Linked DNA regions of Homo sapiens: regions 1 and 2 are each linked to region 3. The links are contacts of gene promoters, found by promoter capture Hi-C in blood cells and fetal thymus (Javierre and others, 2016). All regions are on one chromosome and are shown on one strand. Each heading gives the region's core, a stretch centred on a gene start or on the middle of the fragment in contact. The rest is flanking DNA. Distances are from core to core; before and after follow the strand shown. Region 1 overlaps DMXL2 (Dmx like 2). Region 2 overlaps DMXL2 (Dmx like 2). Region 3 holds the start of TMOD2 (tropomodulin 2).

Region 1 (3,295 bases), core at 701-3,200, 210 kb before region 3:
AGACAAAGAATTTATCTTTCTAAATCTTATCCACTCATCAAGAATGAACCCAAATATTGTCCTTAATAAAGAATTCTATGCCTACCTTAATCTGATCTCTCTCTCTCCTCTGAATAATGAAACACTTCTAGGGCCATCCTTTTGGCAATTAATTACATACCACCCTTAGACTCCTCTTCTTATGTCTTAAACTGCTACTTAACTTTTTATTAATAAGCTCTCTCTTCAGCTAAATTAAAAGCTCCTTAAAGGTAGGTCTGAAACTTATATTTTGTATTCCCTCTACATCTAGGAGAACATAGTAGATGCTCAAAAATAGTCATTGGTTTTCAATACTGGAAACATTTTTATTAGAATAGTTGTTTTTATAGGTAAATGGAAAATCTACTGTTCAACTCTAGATACTAACATATATGACTTCCAGCTCAGATACAGAACTATCAGAATGAGATGCTGCCACCCACTGATAACAAATTCTAACCAGAGAATTTTTTAAAATGGTGAATCAAGCTTGAAAAAGTTCCAATTTTCCAACCTAAACATACAGCTTGGTAAAGATGCCTTAAAACTTCTTTTAAGCAAAGTAAGACTAACAGAACCAAACTAGAGAGTAAAATATGTTACAAACAAATAATATTTTAGAAAAAAATCCTTTTTATTTCTTTTCATGTAAAATGTATTAATGTGTGGTATGTACACTAAAATTTTGATTCATGTACCTTGGAACACAGCTTAGGAAAAAATAAATGTGTCATATATATGTCATATGCAGCCCAGAACATATACTTACTCCCTAAACAGCAACTAACAAACACAGGTCCTAGACAAAGTCAAAAGAGAATTCTTTATCTCCTTAGATAAATTAATAAAGATTATTAAATACTTACTGAAGATTCTGGGTCTGACAATTCATCTAATAATTTCCTTGCATCCACTACAGCTTGATAGAGTCTCAGATTTTTGCCATCAGAAGCAACAAAGCAAGCACTTGCAGAATTGCAGTATGTGCCTGAGAAAGGAAAACAAGGCCTCTGGGTTCTAAACATGTAGTGTATTTTTCTTATTGGCTAAAGGATAAGAAACAAGTATTCACATTTTTTTTAGGCTTAACCATGGTCTAGAATCATAATTAAACAGGCACAATAAGTAGATACAAAATTATTAACAAAAAGTTTAATTAAAAAATGGATTATGAGAGAAAAGGTTAAAAACTTCTGGAAGTTCTAAAAATCAGTCTCATGCCTGTATTCTGAATATTTATTAAAAATCACCTTAATGAAAACTGAATACTTATTAAAAATCTTAATGACAACAAATATAAACCATTTCGTATATAACAAATAATAGTTTAAAAGCTTGTGTTAATTTCACAATTACAATGAACACTTACCTAGACAGTAACTGGGAATGAGAGTTGGAAGCCAAGCCACATTAGAGAACGCTGAGGTATGTAAAGAGTTAATTCGAGCCAATTCTGATACTCCTCCAGTGTATGACAAAGGTCCTATTGGGTCTACACGCCACAGAATAAGTTCACTGTAGATTGCATTTGGGTCATGAAATGTACGAGTTGCTGCATTTCTAAGAGGTTGTTTCGAGGAACCTTTTATATGTTTTACAGGGTCCATTAATCTACTTAATTTATTGTCTGAGTCCCACTGACAATCTAATTCAGGAGTCAATAGAGCATTATGATGAGAGGATGTCAATAACAGTGGTAAAACTGAATGACATGCCAGGTCATTGAGGTGAAATCGATGACCGCAATATCTAAATTTGTGAGATACAGTTAGAACAGTGGTAAAGGCAGACTTATCAGCAAAAGTGACTGCCCACTGATTTAAAGAACCATCTATGTGTTTAGAGATCATCATTACTGTGGGAGCTAAGATGTTCATATGTGTACTGTGGGATCTAGAGTGTGGCTGTGATCCGTGAGGACTGCCTACAGACATCCCCTCCTGGTGTAACAGCGTGTGGTGAGAATCTTTTGTCGCATTTATACAGGCATACATCATGATATTTTTACTAAGAGAGCTTGCATCACCAGAGGGAAATGCAACAGGAATCCGAGAAGAAAAAGAAACCTGAAAAACATAATTATATGATTCAGTGCAAATAGTTTACCTCCTCTCAAAAAAAAGACTTCTATTCTCAAAATACCAAATCTCAGCTTCTTATCAAAAAATGTCATTTTCAACCTCTTTATGGTCCAGTCCCCTTGCTCTATTTAGGTAATACCATATCTCTATTCATGGCCTAAGAGAAGGCTGAAGAAAAAAAGTTCAAGTGCTTTGCTTGTACAACAAAATGACCACAGCCACAGATCTAAATAGCAATAAAGTTGAGAGAGATGACAAAGGCAGCTTCGTTTAGCTCATCAAATTGGCCACAAGGAGGAGCTCATCCTGATTCACATTTTCAGGGTAGTTTCTTAATCTTATTCAAAATATTATTAATTCCCTCAAAAATCAACACATATATTTAAATATTCAGTACTGCATTTCAAGGCCAAATTCATTATCTTCTAACTAATCAAGTTTGCTAAGCTTATGGTCACTGATCCCTTCTGAAAGAAAGAAGTATTCTTTACTCAGATGCTTATCAAAACCAAAATTTTCAGTAATTCTAAAAACATGCTAACTCTACAAAGCATTTATTTCTTTTTACTATTTTAAGAAATGTAATAACTATTTCATCAATAAAATATACCTGAACTTGTCTAAATATTCCAGGATTATATTCATCCAAATACTTCACATGCCACACTAGAAAGGTACCATCTACAGGGTGTATTGTAAAAAGCATATCAGGATTCTTATTCCATTCAGTTAGCAGCGTTTCAATCTTCCGATCAAGCAGAACCGTAGGCAGTGGCATTGGTACACTAAGTCGTGAGTAAGTTCTAGGACTTCCTTCTCTTTCTCCATCTTCATGTTCTGATGATCCTGTACCTGCCTCAGATTCTCTATCCAGGGATAAATCTGAACCAGAAAATATATTTATCAATACAAGCATTAAATAATTCATTTACATACTAGACTATAAATAAATGGCATACTATCTTTAAAAACTAAATCTCTTTTCCAATTTACAGTCAGAAAAAAAAACAAAGGAAACTTTTGTCTGAATTGAATGTTACTACAGTTACTACTTTTAGATAAATTAAAACTTCATTCACCCTATCATTATTACTACCATTTAGCAAAACCTGTTCCCCAGAAAAGGATATGGCTTCCAAAGAACATATAGAGTTAGATGATGTTTGCAGGGGCTAGCAGAGTACCTGATCCAA
Region 2 (3,314 bases), core at 137-2,636, 190 kb before region 3:
ACAAGAGCCTAACAGACATGTACAAGACATCTGCTGCAGCATTATTTAATACATGTCAGAAATGGTATGGCAGATCAATGGAAAAAGAATGAACTATTCAGTAAATGTTATTGAGACAACTTTCATTTGGATTAGGGACTTAATTATAAGAGATTAAAATTTTAAGATTTTAGGAGAAAATAAAAAAGAATACTTTTATAGCATCACAGTAAGAAATTTTCCTAAACAAGATTCAAACTACAATTAACTCACTATATATTGTGGATATTTTTGTAAAATCTTTATACTTCAAAAGTAGATACTGAAATATTTACAGACGAATGACATCAGTGACACAAGCCTAAATAATCCAACTGGGGGAGGAGTAGTACAGATGAAACAAGATTGGCTGAGTGATAACTGCTGAAACTAAGTGATGGGTACATAGGAGTTCAGTACCTTTCTGTTCATGTTTGAAGAAAAATTTTTTTAATTTAGGGCATCATAAATAAAGGGAAAAGAGACCAGCCTGGGCAACATAATGAAACCTTATTTCTACCAAAAAAAAAAAAAAAAAAAAAAAAAAACTAGCCAGATGTGATGGTACACACCTGTATTCCCAGCTGAGGCAGGAGGACTGCCTAAGCCCAGGAGGTCAACGCTGCAATGAGCCGTGACTGTGCCATTGCACGCTAGCCCGGGTGACGGATTGAGACTCAGTCTCAAAAAAAAAAAAAAGAAAAGAAAAAAAAGAAAAACACAAACTCTGTTAAGTTCAGAACTGTGGAAAACTAAATATTACCTTATTTGGGAATTTAGATGAGTGAAACTTTTTTAAATAAAATAATAAACATGAAAATCAGGATTCTGGTTGCCTGGGGTGGGAGGGGAGGAAGGAGATGCATGGAGAAAGATAAAGGACCCATTTGTTTTATGTTCTTTGTCTCAAGTTGAGGAGTAGGGTACATGTGTATTTGTTTATTCTTTATTATATCTTATATAACATGTTTTATATATACTTTTTTAATTTATGAAATATTTTGTAATTTAAAAAAAATCAGAGAATTTTAAAACCTCTTAAAAATTAAAAATTTAATAGCAGAAAAAAATTACTTTGAAGTTACATCTGAAAAGTCCCCCAGAAATTAAAAGAAAAAGATGAATAAGTGGACAACAGTAAAGGGGGAAGATAGTAAAATAGAGAATTAGTGTAAAAGTATCCATATCTGAATAAGAAAAGATTCAGAGAGAGAAAGAAATAACACGAAAGAAATAATATAATCTCTCAGAATTGAAAGACATGAGTTTCAGATTTAACAGGTCCCCCAAATGTCGTAGCGTTAGTTGGATAGTGTGCTTTGGCTTTGATTCTGGGTGAGTGCAGGAGAGTAGTCTTCATACAATTTCTTCAGGTGTAGTCAGTGTCAGTGGTGGCTGTGAGTTACTCATTGGCTTAGGCTGTGGTTGGTAGCAGAGGCTGTAGTGAGGCTTTGCTGCAGACAGGGACACCAGACAGGCCAGTTCTGAGGCACCCGTGGTGGCAGAGGCAGGCCAGGCATGCAGGCCCTTGGGCTCCCAGGCAGCATACAAGACGCCAGTAGTCACAGGTCCAGGAGGACCAGTCCTTGGGCCTACAGGCAGCTTGCTCAGGTGCCAGTGGTTATGGAAAACAGTACGGAGTTTTCTCAAAAAAACAAAACTAGAACTACCATACAGTTCATCAATCCCACTAATGGGTATTTATCCAAAAAAAAGGAAATCAGTGTATCAAAGGGATAGCTACACTCCCATGTTTACTGCAACACTATTCACAATAGCCTAGATATAGAATCAACCTACATGCCCATCAGTAAATGAAGGGATAAATGAAATGTGGTAAATATACACAGTGGAATACTATTTGGCTGTACAAAGGACAAAATCCTATAACTTGTAGTAACATAAATGGAACTAGAAGTCATTATGTTACATGAAATAAGACAAGCACACAAAGAAAAAGTACCGTTATTTTCTCAATCTTATGTGGGAGCTAAAAAAGGAGATGAAGAGAAATTGGTTAATTGGTACAAATACACAGTTAGATAGATGGAATAAGTTCTAGTGTTCAATAGTACAGTAGGGTGGCAATGGTTAACAATAATATATTGTACATTTCAATTAACTAGAAGATTTGAAATGTTACCAACACAAAAAGAGATAAACATTTGAGGTGATGGATATCCTAAATACTCTAATTTGACCATCATTACACATTACGCATGTATCAAAATATCACATGTATCCCATATATATATCAATTAAAAAGTTTATTGAGATATAATATCGAAGGTCAGTGATTTTTCAACCCAATTCTATGCCCGAGAAAATCAAGCATAAGAAAAAAATCTTTCAGACACGTAAGGCCTGAAAAAATGTTTTTTCCCATTCACCTTTCTTCAGGAACCTATTGGGGGATATCTCCATCAAAACAAGAAAAAAGGAAGATAAATGATGCTAAGAAACAGAAAATTTAACAAAGGAGAGAGGCAAAGAGAATTTCCCAAAGTTGGTAAAAGAAAATCCGAAAATGGTAGCTCTGCTATTTTAGACTGGTAGAGCAATTAAGCTGAATGAGAGCAAAGAGAACTCATGTTCCCAGAATACCTCCTATGTGGGATTATACTGAGAAAAGAGTCAAAGCAGTTCTAAGGATGAATTAGGTATATAGAAAAAAAAGCAAACCATAAAACAAAGCAATTACTATCTCCAAAGTAATTACTATTAAGAATAATCTGTACAATCTTAATAACATAAACAATAACTTCTGATTTACCCAAAATCATGAGATACCTACATCAGGAAGATAGGAGCAAGTGAAATGAATATGTGTATATATTAGATGTGAAGATGATGTTGGGGATATCAACCCCTCACCTTTATCAAGCTAAAGCCTCAGCTTCTACAGTGGGAAGGCAAAAAATAATATATATAACTCAGGGGGCTGGGCAGAATCAAGAAATGGGAGCACCTGCAAGTTATTGAAGGACATGGAAGGAAATAGCAAAATATTCAACTTGACAAATAATTGCCTCCTGGACACAGGAATTAGCGTTGGAATAATGAGGCAAGCAGTACATCTTTTCATTGTGAATCCAGTATTATTTTACTTTTTAAGTTATGTACATATGCTATTTTTAAACACAAAACTTAGTTTTTAAAAACGCAAATAAGCCAAGGTCAAATAAGAGTAATAAGAATAGCCATTATTTCCCAAGCGCCTACAACCTGTGAGCAAAATACCAGGTCTTTTACAAACACCACTTTTATTCTTCAGGCCAGCTTTGCCAAGGAGGATT
Region 3 (3,536 bases), core at 827-3,326:
TCTGAAGGAATACTCTATTCGTTTTATCACATGCAGCCATTTTCCTCGTGCAGAACCACGGGAAACCAAAGAGAAATACTGTACACTACTGAGCACCTTTGCTACTCTTTCTTCCAATATGAATGAAATTGCTTTATTATTTTCAGCATATGCCTACTATCAGCTTTCTCTGGGAAAACTGCTGGCTCGATCCGTAAGCAGCCCTGTTCTTATTTAACAGAAGGCTATGACTGTAACAAATGTACAACATAAAAAAGTCAAAGGCATCCTGTCGGTTACACAGGACATTCGGAATAACAAATGTACAGGAAAACTTGGGAACATGACTTAAAGTAATTTGGTCACACCCCCATTTCATTTAACTCTTTCTGGCTCAGATTTGTCATTCTGACAGGAGGCCCAAGATATAGTCCATTACCACAATTGATCATAGAAACAACACTGGTCTCTCAGTCAGCAGCCACTGCGTGCCAGTGTTCATCATGCTAGTTCCCAGAGTTTTAGAGGATTAACTTTACTTTCTGGTTCAACCCATCTGCTGGGGAAGGTATGGCCCTATTTTGCAATGTGCAAAAGGGAGACAGTGCTGGGGGTGCCCACAGTGGAAGGAGAGAAGACAGGCTTACTGAACACCCCTATGACCTTGAATAAGTCACATCACCTCTCTGTGCCTCTTATTAACTATCATTGGGGAAAAATACCTTCACTCTGCCTGTCTCACAAGGGTTCTTGTAAAAATCAAATGAGAACACAAATAGGAAAGTATTTTCATAAATGCAAACCAGTGTTATCATTTTCAGATGTGGAATTTCCTCTGCAGCACGTTTTTTTGGCCACACGATTACTGCACACCTCGTGCCAGACAGACTATAAAGCTGTTTCACCTCTTTTCACATTTTGCCTAAAATTTCATATAGAGATTACACCAGCCATGCTGCATCCATCCCTTTGGTTCATTTTCCTCCACTACATCTGTGAATGCAAATCCCACCATCATGTGAAACACTGCATAGCAGCAACTTGCAAAACTCAACGAACCTTAGACTGCCAAGATAAGTCCCATAAGCAAAGGTTATGCTCAAAATATGCTGCAAAAGTTCAAGAAGGAGAGAGATATCACATCTAATTAGAAAAGGCCTCTGGAAGTTAAATCTAGATGCCATGTATTTTCATAATGTTGGTCTTTGTCCTATGTCACCCCACTCTGCTGTCATGCTTCAGAAACTTGACTTTATTTTCTCTATCTTTGGAGCTCTCAAGAACCTGGCAGACAGAACATCTCAGGGTATATTCAGGGATGAAGTGAACGGGCTCAACGACTAACAAACCCAGTGGATTTTAACATTTACCCAGCCCAACGAGGTCCAACTATCTTTAGGTTAGCACGACATATAGGACTTTCCCGGCCCAAGAACTCCCTCGGAAACCCCAAGGAAGGAACTTTCACTGAGTATGCACTAAGTGCCAGATCCTAAGTGCTATGGGTCGCTTAATCCTCACAACACTTTTTCAAGCTTGAAGCCTGTTTTACAGATGAGGACGCGAAGGCTCAGACAGGCTAAGTTGTCCGGTCTCACCTCAGTGAAGCCGCCACTGCGCTTGGGCTCTCCAGCCCCTCACGCCATCACCCTAGAGCCTTGCTAACTTCCACCTCGCTTACCTCCTTCCCTCCCTAGGCTGCCAACCCAACTACTCTCTCCTCCCACGCCCACGCCCAGCCAGGAAAACCTGGGGCGGGCGGGGTCTGTACCTGAGACCGCTCTCAACGCGGCTTCCGTGTCAGGATGCTCGCTCACAGGAATGCTCATCACAGGCTTGAAAGCCTTTGCCATCCACGCTCTCCGGAGCCCCGAGCGTCTCCAAAGAGCCTGCCCAGGCTTCTCCCCGACCCAGGTGCTTCCTCCCCTGCAGAGCTGTGGCGGGGTTCAGACCCCGATTCCGGGAGAGGACACCTGTCGGGGAAGGGCGGGGCTGGGGGACTGCGGGGCCGCGGCGAGGCTCAGCCGGGAACTACGCTTCCCAGCCTGCTCCGCTGCAGCCGCGCGCCCCGGCGCCGCGCCCGGCCGGGAGCCGCCTGTTGATCGCCGCGCTCGCCCCGGCCACGGCGCCGCCCCTGTTCTCCCGGCCCCGCTCCACCGGGGCTGACGGACTGACGGCCAGCACAGCCGGCTCCGGGATGAGCGCACGGACGGGTGAGCGCCCCGGGGGGCGGGTGGGGCCTGTTCTGGACAGCCGGTGTCTGCAGCCCCCGGGCCCGCAGCGCGGTGGCCGCCGTGCCCTCCCTGCCCGCGGGAGGATGCTCCGCGACATGGGCGGTCGGCCGGGCGGGCGTGCAGAGCCGGGCCGCCTCTCGCCTCTCGCCTCCCGGCCCGGTCGGCTGCGCCGGGAGACCAGGCGCTGCGCCCGGGCGGGAGGCGCCCGCCGGGGTGTGAGTCCCGCGCCCCGCACTGCGGTGCCGCAGCCTCTGCAGCCCGCTGGGCCGCAGCGGGGAGGGCGCGGTCTCCTGTCCTCCCGGGCTGCGGGGCTGTGTTCTTCCACTCCGGGCTTTGTTCCCCCACTTTTCCCCTTCCTGTGCATGTTTGGTGAGCTCCTGGAGCGGTATGCATCTCCCTGCCTCGTTCAGCAGGCGATGGGGAGGGGTGGACTGGCCGGCGTCTTTCCTGAGATCGCTGGAGCTGTCACTCGCAGGGCGTTTCAGCCTCCCAGTAAGCGGCCTCGTGCGGATCCTCGAGAACCTTATTATTATTGTTATTACTTTTCTGGTTAAAGTAATTGTAGTATGTGCTCCCTTGAGGCTTCCTAAATGTTCCCTGTTGACCTGCGGAAATGAAGGTGGATTTTTAAAACAGTAATAAAAGGCTTCTAATGGGAATTTTTAGAGTATTCAGAGGTAGGAAGGTGATGCCGTCACAATGCAAATTAGCAGTGAAGGAGGCCGTGCTTACTGCAGCTTCGTCTGTGCCCATTACATATCTGAATCACGAGGCATTTAGGACGGGAATGAAAAGAAGATCGGGGGAGGTGTTTTAAAAACCAGGTTCTCCTCTTAGCTTGACCATTCAGGAGCTGAGGGACCTGGGCAAGTCCCTCCACCTCTCTGGGCCTCTGCATGTAAAGGGGCGTTTGGGCTAAATGATTTGTAAACCTCTGTTCTTCCAAGATTCTCCCCTCTCAGGGAACTGAAAAGATGAGAGTGTTTCTGTTTAACAGCACTACAAAAAGCCTAATTGTGACAACAAGCGCCTCTACCCTAGTGAGGAGGAAAGATTTTTCAGAGCTTCAGCAATCTGATTTTTTTTTAAAGATAAAACTGATTTTCTCGATCGACTCTCTTCAGTCTAACCCAATAAATACGCATTGCAATCATTTTAATTTTTGTAAGGTACTGTACATTGGTGGGCAACAAAATGATGGGGTTTGTTTTTGTCTTTAATTTGCTGAAGGTGAAGTGATGGGATCAGCAGATAAAGGATTAGTGGCTCCCTAGGGCTGGGCACGAGTGGTCAAATGTGGTCAGCATGGAGGTCGGGGAGGAA

What was found. Contacts are between HindIII fragments. The CHiCAGO score rates a contact against its expected background, and 5 or more counts as called.
Region 1: a contact is called between a fragment that was not itself captured here and the fragment with the promoter of TMOD2 in region 3, in 1 of 17 cell types (monocytes). The highest score is 5.8, in monocytes.
Region 2: a fragment that was not itself captured here is called in contact with the fragment with the promoter of TMOD2 in region 3 in 2 of 17 cell types (neutrophils and monocytes); the score reaches 6.1 in neutrophils.

The regions. Positions count from the first base shown.
Region 1 is chr15:51,534,776-51,538,070 of GRCh38, forward strand. It overlaps DMXL2 (Dmx like 2), which reads right to left. Exons shown (of 44, transcript NM_001378457.1): 11 at 2,713-2,984; 12 at 1,391-2,087; 13 at 888-1,009. Among named protein-coding and RNA genes, the nearest start is that of DMXL2, 86 kb to the right of the region's middle. The HindIII fragment of the contact is 1,194 bases long and covers 1,354-2,547 here.
Region 2 is chr15:51,559,966-51,563,279 of GRCh38, forward strand. The region is part of intron 6 of DMXL2 (Dmx like 2); the gene reads right to left. Among named protein-coding and RNA genes, the nearest start is that of DMXL2, 61 kb to the right of the region's middle. The HindIII fragment of the contact is 6,262 bases long and covers 1-3,314 here.
Region 3 is chr15:51,749,521-51,753,056 of GRCh38, forward strand. It overlaps TMOD2 (tropomodulin 2), which reads left to right and starts at 2,077. Exons shown (of 10, transcript NM_014548.4): 1 at 2,077-2,192. It also overlaps a transcript of LYSMD2 not described here. RefSeq lists an enhancer at 1,631-1,700 and silencers at 1,811-2,240, 2,291-2,400, 2,431-2,490. The HindIII fragment of the contact is 6,757 bases long and covers 1,513-3,536 here.